3 separate regions of the Homo sapiens genome follow, and regions 1 and 2 are each linked to region 3. Evidence: promoter capture Hi-C in 16 types of primary human blood cells and fetal thymus (Javierre and others, 2016). All regions are on one chromosome and are shown on one strand. Each heading gives the region's core, a stretch centred on a gene start or on the middle of the fragment in contact. The rest is flanking DNA. Distances are from core to core; before and after follow the strand shown.

The links. Contacts are between HindIII fragments. The CHiCAGO score rates a contact against its expected background, and 5 or more counts as called.
Region 1: a fragment that was not itself captured here is called in contact with the fragment with the promoter of POP4 in region 3 in 2 of 17 cell types (total B cells and naive CD4 T cells); the score reaches 5.8 in total B cells.
Region 2: a contact is called between a fragment that was not itself captured here and the fragment with the promoter of POP4 in region 3, in 2 of 17 cell types (naive CD8 T cells and naive CD4 T cells). The highest score is 7.0, in naive CD8 T cells.

Annotation. Positions count from the first base shown.
Region 1 is chr19:29,743,460-29,746,658 of GRCh38, reverse strand. No RefSeq gene overlaps it. Among named protein-coding and RNA genes, the nearest start is that of C19orf12, 30 kb to the right of the region's middle. RefSeq lists enhancers at 754-1,253, 1,254-1,755. The HindIII fragment of the contact is 1,976 bases long and covers 405-2,380 here.
Region 2 is chr19:29,760,889-29,764,357 of GRCh38, reverse strand. No RefSeq gene overlaps it. Among named protein-coding and RNA genes, the nearest start is that of C19orf12, 47 kb to the right of the region's middle. The HindIII fragment of the contact is 1,827 bases long and covers 792-2,618 here.
Region 3 is chr19:29,604,714-29,607,842 of GRCh38, reverse strand. POP4 (POP4 ribonuclease P/MRP subunit) reads right to left here and starts at 1,560. Exons shown (of 7, transcript NM_006627.3): 1 at 1,518-1,560. The coding sequence starts at 1,524. RefSeq lists an enhancer at 1,418-1,907. The HindIII fragment of the contact is 1,017 bases long and covers 1,118-2,134 here.

The DNA.
Region 1 (3,199 bases), core at 143-2,642, 140 kb before region 3:
TGGCCCAAGCCCCTCCAGCAGTAGGAGTCTGGGGCATAACTTGACCTTCAGTGTCGACAGTGCAGTGGAAAAGCCTGGGGGTGGATGCTAGAGGTCTGGGGAAGGCTCCCTGGCTCCCAGACTCTTCCTGCCCTGCCTGCTAATGTCCCCAGACCCACCCGCAGGGCTGCATCACCATGGACCACAGTGGTGGATGCCACTCTATTTTCAGAAAATAGCTTCCAGTTTCTGTATCTGTATCTGTGCCTCTATCTACAATCACTCTCTCGATGACAGATTAGATAGATAGATGATAGATAGATAGATAGATAGATAGATAGATAGATAGACAGACAGACAAACGGGGAGAGAGAGAGACCTATACCTATATCTCAGGAATCATTAGTGTGCTGTACTTTAAAGCTTTTCAGCAGGCTTCGTTCTGTAAATGTGCGCACCAAAACACTAGACAAGTGACAATTACAAATAACAAAAAAGATACATGGCCAGGCGCGGTGGCTCACGCCTATAATCCCAGGACCTTGGGGGGCCGAGGTGGGTGGATCACTTGAGGTGAGGAGATTGAGAGCAGCCTGGCCAACGTGGTGAAACTCCGTCTCTACTAAAAATACAAAAATCAGCCAGGTGTGGTGGCATGGGCCTGTAGTCCCACCTACTCAGGAGGCTGAGGCAAGAGAATCTCTTGAACCTGGGAGGCGGAGGTTGCAGTGAGCCGAGACTGTGCCACTGCACTTGAGCCTGGGTGACGGAGTGAGATGCTGCCTCAAAAAACAACAACAAAAAAAGGCCTTGTTACGGTCTCTGCTCCCACCCTGGCCTCGCTAGAGGCCCCTTTCAAGCCTGCGAGTGAGCCTGGGTTGATCAGACTCTTCCTTGAAGTCAGAGAATTGACAAGAAGCCCAGGGTCCTCCTCTGTCCTGCCGAAGATTTAAAGGGGAAGTTTGGGTAAGAAACAACAAACTTGACCAACTTGACAACGCTGTTTATTTGTTTGCTTTAAAACAAAATCTACTTGTTTGAGGAACAGTGATGAAAATGAGCGAGTGTCTGTTCTCAGGACAGTCTGTCTTTCCTGTGGAACTCAGGTGAGCCAGTCCCTCTGCCTGTGGTTCTCTGGGGGCAGTGTGTTCAGGGAGTCCCAGGCAGGGGCTGGCTTGCTCTGGGGTGTCCAGCAGAGGGCCAGAGAGCTTGCAAGCCAGACCTAGGGGGCTCCCGTGGGGCTCCCACTGCCCATGAAGCCCTTCCGTCCCCAGTGCCTTTGCTCTTGTTGTCCCTCCTGCCCCACCCTCTAGACCCCAGATCTGTGCATGGCAGTTTTTTCTTGTCACTTGGCTTTAATTGCAAATGCGCCCTCTTCGGGGAGGCATTTCCTGACAACCTGATCCAAAGTGCCCTGCCCTGCGGGCCTCCCACTCTCAGCCCACCTCGCTTTATTTTCTCCAGTACACGAATCGCAATCTCCATCATCGATGGCCATGCACCGAATAATGTTTGGGTCAAAGGCAGTGTGCAGTGGTGACAGTGGTCCCATCAATGATAATACTATATTTTTACTGTACCTTTTCTAAGTTGAGATTTGTTTAGGTACACAGATACTTAACCACTGGGTTCCAGCTGCCTGCGGCATTCAGCGCAGTAACGTGCTGTCTGGGTCTGTGGTCTAGGAGCCACAGGCCACACCATGCAGTCTAGATGTGCAGTAGGCAACCCCATCCAGGTTTGTGTAGTGCACTCTGTGACGTCCACACAATGACAACATCACCTCTCCATGCATTTCACAGGACATGTCCCTGTCACTCAGCGACGCTTTAGATCTTGTTGGCTGCCTTCCCCAAGCAGAACATGGGCTCCCTGAGAGGAGGGAGACCATTCTCTGTGGTGACCATTCAGAGCAGTGGTGAGAACAGGGCCTGGCCCACCTGGCAGGTACCCGGTAGGCATCTGTAGAGTGAATGAGAGTAAAGGAGAAAGACTGGCCCTTCCTGTGCACATAGCTGAGATGGGAACTCTGGATGTTGACACAGGTCAGTCATCCTTTGGTTTTTTTTGTTTGTTTGTTTGTTTGAGACAGATCTTGCTCTGTCACCCAAGCTGGAGTGCAGTGGCACCATCTAGGCTCTTAGATTCAAGTGATTCTCGTGCCTCAGGCTCCCCAGTAGCTGGAACTACAGGCATGTGCCACCATGCCTGGAGAATTGTTTGTATTTTTAGTAGAGACAGTGTCTCACCCTATTGCCCAGGCTGGTCTTGAACTCCTCATCTCAAATGATTGGATCTCAAGTGATCCACCCACCTTAGCCTCCCAAAGTACTAGGATTACAGGCATGAGCTGCCGTGCCTGGCCACGATTGCCCTCTTGTCCTTACTCCCAAAAGAAGCTTTTCCTAAGTTATTCTGATAATTCCTGCTTGAGCAAATCTAGATAATTGAGGTATAAGCATTGGGTGGGGCATTTTTTTTAAAATTGTTGTTTTCATTGAAATTGCCTTAATTCTCCCATTTCCTCTGCCACTGTGGACAGGACTAAGCTATTTGGGCCTCCTCTCTCTCTGCTCTGAATCGCTGTCTATCATGGTCACCAGCACCTCTCTTTTTTAAAAAAAATTTTTTTTAAGAGTCAGGGTCTTGTTCTGTTGCCCAGGCTGGAGTGCAGTGGTGCAATCATAGCTCACTGCAGTCTCAATATCCTGGGCTTGAGTGATCTTCCTACCCCAGCCTTTGGAGTAGCTGAGACAACAGGTGTGCACCATCACACCCAGCTACTTTTTTTTATTTTTTGTAGAGACAGAGTCTTGCTATGTTGCCCAGACTTGTCTCAAACTCCTGGGCTTAAGCAATCTGCCTGCCTCAACCTCCCAAAGTGCAGAGATTACAGGTATGAGCTACTGTGCACAGCCAGCACCTTTTCTTGGACAATGACATTTCAGCCAGCCCCTGGTTTCATGGCCAGATCACTGAATGGGCCAAGGCAGTTGGTCCTTTCCTTCTCTTTTCCCTCAAGGGAGGCTTTTCTCCTGCCCAGCATCTCTTTTTTCTTTTTTCTTTTCTTTTTTTTTTCTTTCTTCGACGGAGTCTCACTCTGTTGCCCCAGTGGGAGTACAGTGGCACTATCTCAGCTCACTGCAACCTCCACTTCCCGGGTTCAAGTGATTCTCGTGCCTCAGCCTCCCAAGTAGCTGTGATTACAGGCGCCTGCCAT
Region 2 (3,469 bases), core at 456-2,955, 160 kb before region 3:
TCCCAGGCCCATGGGCTTACGAGGTGACACCACAAGAGGCAGTTGAGAGTTTCCTGGGGGCTTTTTGCTCAATTGTGTGCCTGGTCTGCACGCCCATCACGCTTCCTTTAGGCCCTGTGATCTCTGGTCAGCTGTACACCACGTCTGAGCCTCAGTTTGCCCATTTGTAGTGTACGGGTAGTGCTCCCTGGCCTGCACACCTCAGAGGGCTCTTTTGGGCCCCCAGAGCTGCAATGCCTGAAAGCATCTTAAAAATAGCCCGTGCTGGCAGGGCATGATGGTTCATGCGTGTAATCTTAGCACTTTGGGAGGCCGAAATGGGTGGATCACTTGAGGTCGGGAGTTTGAGACCAGCCTGGCCAACATGGTGAAATCCCGTCTCCACTAAAAAAATACAAAATTAGGCAGGTGTGGTGGCGCACGCCTGTAATCTCAGCTACTCAGGTGGCTGAGGCAGGAGAATCGCTTGAACCTGACAGGCAGAGGTTGCGGTGAGCCAAGATCGCGCCACTGAACTCCAGCCTGGGTGACAGAGTGAAACTCTGTCTCAAAAACAAACAAACAAACAAACAAACAAACAAAAATAGCCTGTCCTGTACTCAGAGAGGAGAGGCACCACCAGAGTCATTCACTTGGGATAATTCTGTTCCCATTACTAATCTGGAAGGAGACTTCTAAGGACTACAACCCTGATATTTTCTCATCCTGCTTTTCTAATTTTCTCCAACATCAGGCAGCTAGGGGAAAAGCCGCATTTTCAGATGCAAATTTTCCTCTGAACCACGGAAGCTTTAAAACCACCAGATGAAGTATAGAAAGTGCTTGACAATTTCTTTAAGAATCTTGCATTCTCTGGGTTAGAATATCACGCGTGAGGATATGTGTGTGTTGTGTGTTTTTTTAATCCTGCTATCGTGAGCAGCAGGTACCAAAATGTTGATCTTTAATGTGTTAGTAAAACAGCATACATTTGAATATTGGCTTTTTCTGCCATCTGTACCAGTTGACACTGTTTTTCATACCAGCTTATTACATTTCTTGTACAAACATACTTTTGGGTGTCTCTGTTGATTTATGCTATAGTTGCTCTGGTATTTGTGTTAAAATAGCATTTTAAAACTTATAAAATATTGCTATTTATTCCTTCCTTGATTCTTTGCCATTTGACAAGTTCTGCAGTAGCGCATATTTCCCAAGGACTAAGTTTCTGGTCACGGTTCTCTTGAGGGGGCAGCAGGCTGGGGGCAGGCGAGCCCAGAATAGCTCGGGCTGGGGATCTAGCTGGGCACTCCTAGCATACTAAACTCACTGTCCCCCTTGGGTAGGTCTGCAGATTCCCCAGGGCTTTCTTCTTCTTCTTCTTTTTTTAATCTAAAAATTTCTTTTAGAGGCCAGGCACGGTGGCTCACGCCTGTAATCCCAGCACTTTGGGAGGCTGAGGCAGGCAGATCATCTGAGGCCAGGAGTTCAAGACCAGCCTGGCCAACCCCATCTCTACTAAAAATACAAAAATTAGCCAGGCGTGGTGGCGGGCACCTGTAATCCCAGCTACTCATGAGGCTGAGGCACAAGAATTATTTGAACCCGGGAGAAGGAGGTTGCAGTGAGCTGAGATGATGCCATTGAACTCCAGCCTGGGCGACAGGGTGAAACTGTGTCTCCAGAAAAAAACAACTAATAATAAAATAAATTAATTAAAAATGAATAAATAAAAATTTCTTTTAGAGACGGGGGGGGGGGGTCTTGCTATGTTGCTCAGGCTGGTCTTGAACTCCTGGCCTCAAGTGATCCTCCCACCTTGGCCTCCCAAAGTGTGGGGACTACAGGTGTGAGCCACCATGCCTGACCCCCCCAGGGTTATTTTAAACGTCCAAATGATAAAAATAAAGTCAACACGGTAGGTCTCCCTAAATTTGCTCAGTTTGAAGACCTGTTATTCTTTCATTCTGTCTGCCTCCCCCTTTTGATGTCAAAATTTTATTTCTCCAGTGAATTGAAGAGGTTCTTGGATGACCATCTATTTTTTCTCTCAAATGGCTTTCCTGGGCAAAATCATGAGCTGGTATCCCTATGTTCCTTCCCAGTTGGTTTGGGTGTAATTTTACTGATCTGCAAAATCCTCAAATCTGGGGCCCTCTTGTGCTAAGGTAGAGCTTAGATGAGCCCCTCTGCCGGGACTCCATGCCATGGTCTGGGATGGGGGCCCTTCACGGCCCTGGGGGAGGCTCTGTGGCAGTGAATGGCGCCTGCCACCGGCTGGTGCATAGATGAGGCATTCTGCCACTCTAAAAAAAAATCTGTGCAAACTGCCACAGATGGGAGGAAGAGCCGATATTCAAATTGGAGGCTGTTTTGCTAACACGTTAAAGATTAACGTGTTTTTATTGGCTGCTGCATACTGAAGCAGGATGAGTTTTCCTTCTCTAAAAAAGCAGAAAGAAATAGAAGCCGCCTGTTTGGGGCCAGTGCTGGGGATTGTGGTGTGAGGCCCCCACTGCCCAAGAGAGCCCAGGGTTCTGAAGCGCAGCCCCATCTCCCGCTCTGAAGCCCTTGCCCTGTCTCCTGGTGACACCTGGCCCACTTCACCCAGCCTGTGCCTCCCCTTCCGGCTGTAAGCTTCCAATCCCCTTTTCTTTTTTCCTTTCTTTTCTTTCTTTCTTTTTTTTTTTTTCCTTGAGATAGAGTCTCGGTCTGTTGCCCAGCCTGAAGTGCAGTAGCTGGATCTCGGCTCATTGCAACCTCTGCCTCCTGGGTTCAAGCGATTCTACAGCTTCAGCCTCCTGAGTAGCTGGGATTACAGGCATGCACCACCACACCCAGCTAATTTTTGTATTTTTAGGAGAGACAGGTTTCACCATGTTGGCCAGGTTGGTCTCAAACTCCTGACCTCAGGTGATCCACCTGCCTCCGCCTCCCAAAGTGCTGGGATTATAGGTGTGAGCCACCGTGCCCGACCTCCAGTCCCCTTTTCTTAAGACTAAGTCCCCGTGTGATGACGGTGAGCAGGTGCCGGCAGCCATGCCAAGCACCTCCCCAGACTGCTCTGCGGGACTCTCCTGAGAGGCAGTCCCAGTGCCGCATCTTACAGGAGGAGGTGAAACCAAGGCACAGAGAGATGAAGTAACCTGCCTGGGGCCACACAGCAGGGAAGTGTGGGTGCAGAGAGCCCATCTCCCCACCTCTCAGCTCCCAGCCCACGGAACTCTCCCTCCCTGGACTCTGTGTGAGGGATCTAATTTTTATTTTTACAAAGTGGCTTACACCTGTAATCCCAGCACTTTGGGAGGCCGAGGAGGGGGGGCGGGGCCCAGATCAAGTGAGGCCAGGAGTTCGAGACCAGCTTGGCCAACATAGCGAAACCCCGTCTCTACCAAAAATACAAAAATTAGCTGTACAAGTTAAGATGTCTCAGTTTCCTAATCTGTGAAATGGGTGCATTGGTGATTTCAGAGGTCCCTGCATGGTGGCT
Region 3 (3,129 bases), core at 311-2,810:
TTGTTAACTGTAAGATGTTTAAAAAGATTCTTCACATTTTAATATGAAATTATAATGTGTCACATAATCGATGGTGTCCTGAACTGATAAAATACAAGTTTTTCCTTTAAACTCAAAATATACATTGGTCAATAAAGTTTCAACCTCTAAAATAAATTCCACACTTCTGTTTCTTAATTTTTTGAAAGAAGAAAACCATGGCACTGGGGACAGAGTACAGGTGTGAATGGAATAAGAATGGGACTACTAAGGCCTGGTTTATGAGCTAAATAGCTAGAAAATGTAATTTACACTATACTCTGTAAATTTAATTCCAGCTTTCTTGTACTTCCCTGAGAATGTTTGATGCAAGGTGGTTACAAGTTTTTTTTTTTTGTTGTTTGTTTGTTTGTTTTGATACTGGGTTTTGCTCTGTTGCCCTGGCTGGAGTGCAGTGGCACAATCATAGCTCACTGCAACTTCGACCTCCTGGTTTCAAGTGATCCTCCCACCTCAGTCTCCTGAGTAGCTGAGACTACAGGTGTGTGCCACCACACCTGGCTAATTCTTTTTTTTTTTTTCCAGTTTTTGTAGAGACAGGGTCTCGCTATGTTGTTGCCCAAGTTGGTCTTCAACTCTTGGCCTCAAGTGATCCCCCTGCCTCAGCCTCCCAAAGTGCTGGGACCACAGGCGTGTCCCACCACACCCAGCCAGGTATGTTTGTTTGATCAAGCAAACCAATGTGGTTGCAAGTTTTATATATAGCATCTAGTTCTCCCTCAAATGGAAGATGGGGATTATAAACTGTAGAGAGCAACTTGCGGGGCCTGATAACTTTGCTTCATCTGTTACAGGTGCTTAGTAACAGACTTGGAAGTCTTTCTGCAACAATACACATCTAACAATTACTGAACATCCATTACTTGCCAGAAACCTCATTACAAGGTACACATATTTTTTCTCATTACACTTATGTGCATGAGCAAACTGAAGCTCAGACATGCCGAGACAATCTACTTGATCATATAGGTAGAAAGTGGCAGAGATGAAAAATAAAAATTCTGATTGAAGGCCCAGTCTTAACGGTGTCTACACGCCCCTCCTTGGCACATGTCTTCTACCCCTAAGGACCAAAGCTTTGGGTTAGTGATATCATTCCCCAGCAGCTCTCGGCGCTTTGCATCAGGTTAAGAGTGTGAAACCAGCTCGCAGAAAGGAGCAGGATCTTGACCGCGGTCACCCCGGGAGATAGTGGCCAAGTTGAGCCAAGGCCTGGAACCCTCCTCTAGCATCGCACACCACTGAGCAGCCTCCGGGAGAACCTGCCTCCAGCCCTGACATCCCTCCCTAGCTCAGAGGTCGAGCCAGGCTAACCCGTGCTCCAGCCCTCAGTTTTTCTTAGGTAGGGTGGGCCCATTCCTGTAGCGGTTCTGTTAGGACTCCGCAGCAACAGGTAGCCCGGACCCATTTCACCCACCAGTACCAAGACCCCGACCCTTAACGTCCCCAACCCTCTCCAACTTCGCGGCCCCGCTTACTCTTCATTCTCGGACCGCTTCCGGCGCTCTCTGATGACGCACTGGCAGCTGCTGTCGCAGACTCTCGGAGCTCGGAGATGGCGCTATGCGTGACATCACCGGCGCTCGCCCACCTCGGGGGCGCATGCGCCTGGAAAGGGATTCGGCTACTGAGAACGTCGTAGGCGGTGTTGCTGAGCAGTGGGGAGGAGTGGGCTCGCTTCCTGGGGTCTTTTCCGCCTGCATCTTTTGGGGGACAGGCAGTAGGGTTGGGGTAAAGGCATGTGGAATGCTTGCTAAGGCCTGGAGTGGAGCGAGGCGAGGCGACTTGGAGAGGACTCGAAGGAGGTTGGGGATCTGGGAGGGCGGAAATGGGACGGGGACGGTGGGGTGAGGTCTTTGTCGTCCCTAATCAGCGCCCTTACGGATGAGCCGAGGCAGCTTCCGCTGTGAGCACGGGCACCGAAGCTGGGACAGCAGGCTTAGGTTCTAGTTCCGTGTCTGCTGCTAACTAGCTGTTTAACCTCGCTTAGGGCACTTCCCATCTGTAAGCCTCACTTGCAGTCTGTGCTGTGAGTGGGGTCGGCCTCACAGGTAGTGATGCGCCGCCTGGGTCCCTTTGATAGTTTCAGAAAGCTTTCTTGAGACTCAGAATATTTATTAGTTTTTATCAATAAAAAAATCATAGCAATAAGATCAAAGGTGGCTCACACCGTGGGAGGCGCAGGCGGGAGGATCTCTTGAGCCCAGGAGTTCGAGACCAGCCTGGGCAACATCGGGAGACCCCATCTCTACAAAACATTTAAAAAAAATTATCCAGGCGTGGTGGTGCGTGCTTGTAGTCCCAACTACTCGGGTATCTGAGGTGGGAGGATCAGTTGAGCCCAAGGAGTTTAGGGCTGCAGTGAACCTGGATTGCGCTACTGCACTCCAGCCTGGGTGACAGAGTGAGACCCTGTCTCCAAAATAAATAAATAAATTCCATATAAATAAATAAATGAATAAACAAACTCCATTGCTCAGTGGAAAGGTGCAGGAAGGCCTGGTGCAGACTTCTCAGCAGTGACCCAGTGTTGGGCAGAACTGTGGAGCCCCAATTTCTGCTGAGCACTGGGCCTGTGCTGGGTGGGAGAGAAAAGAAATACGGTCCCTTTATGCTAAGTCAGTGGTTCTCAACTTTGAGTACAGTATACATTTCTTTACAGGGGATTCTGGGAGTATGTCCAAAGGTTTTAGTTTGAGAAACATTGGCTTAAACAATTTCTTTGGTGGTGACCTTGTACCATTTTGATTTTAAACATTAGACTGCAGGCACTGAAATTGGTTCATCCCAGTGACCCCGCGTGCATTGACTTTATAAAATTTATGTATTAGTTTTTGCATATGTAGTACACTTATGCATTTATTTTATACGTATAAAATTTGGAAAGACCACATTTAAACCAAAACATGCTGCCTTTGCAGATGCCTGAAAATTGTAATTTATGGGACTGATAGAGAACTTTTATTATTTTTAAAATTAACCAATAAGAATTGTATGTATTTATGGTATACAATATGGTTTGAAATGTGTATACATTGTGTAATGGCTAAATGAGCTATGAGCGATGCTAATACACTCATTTTGTGATGA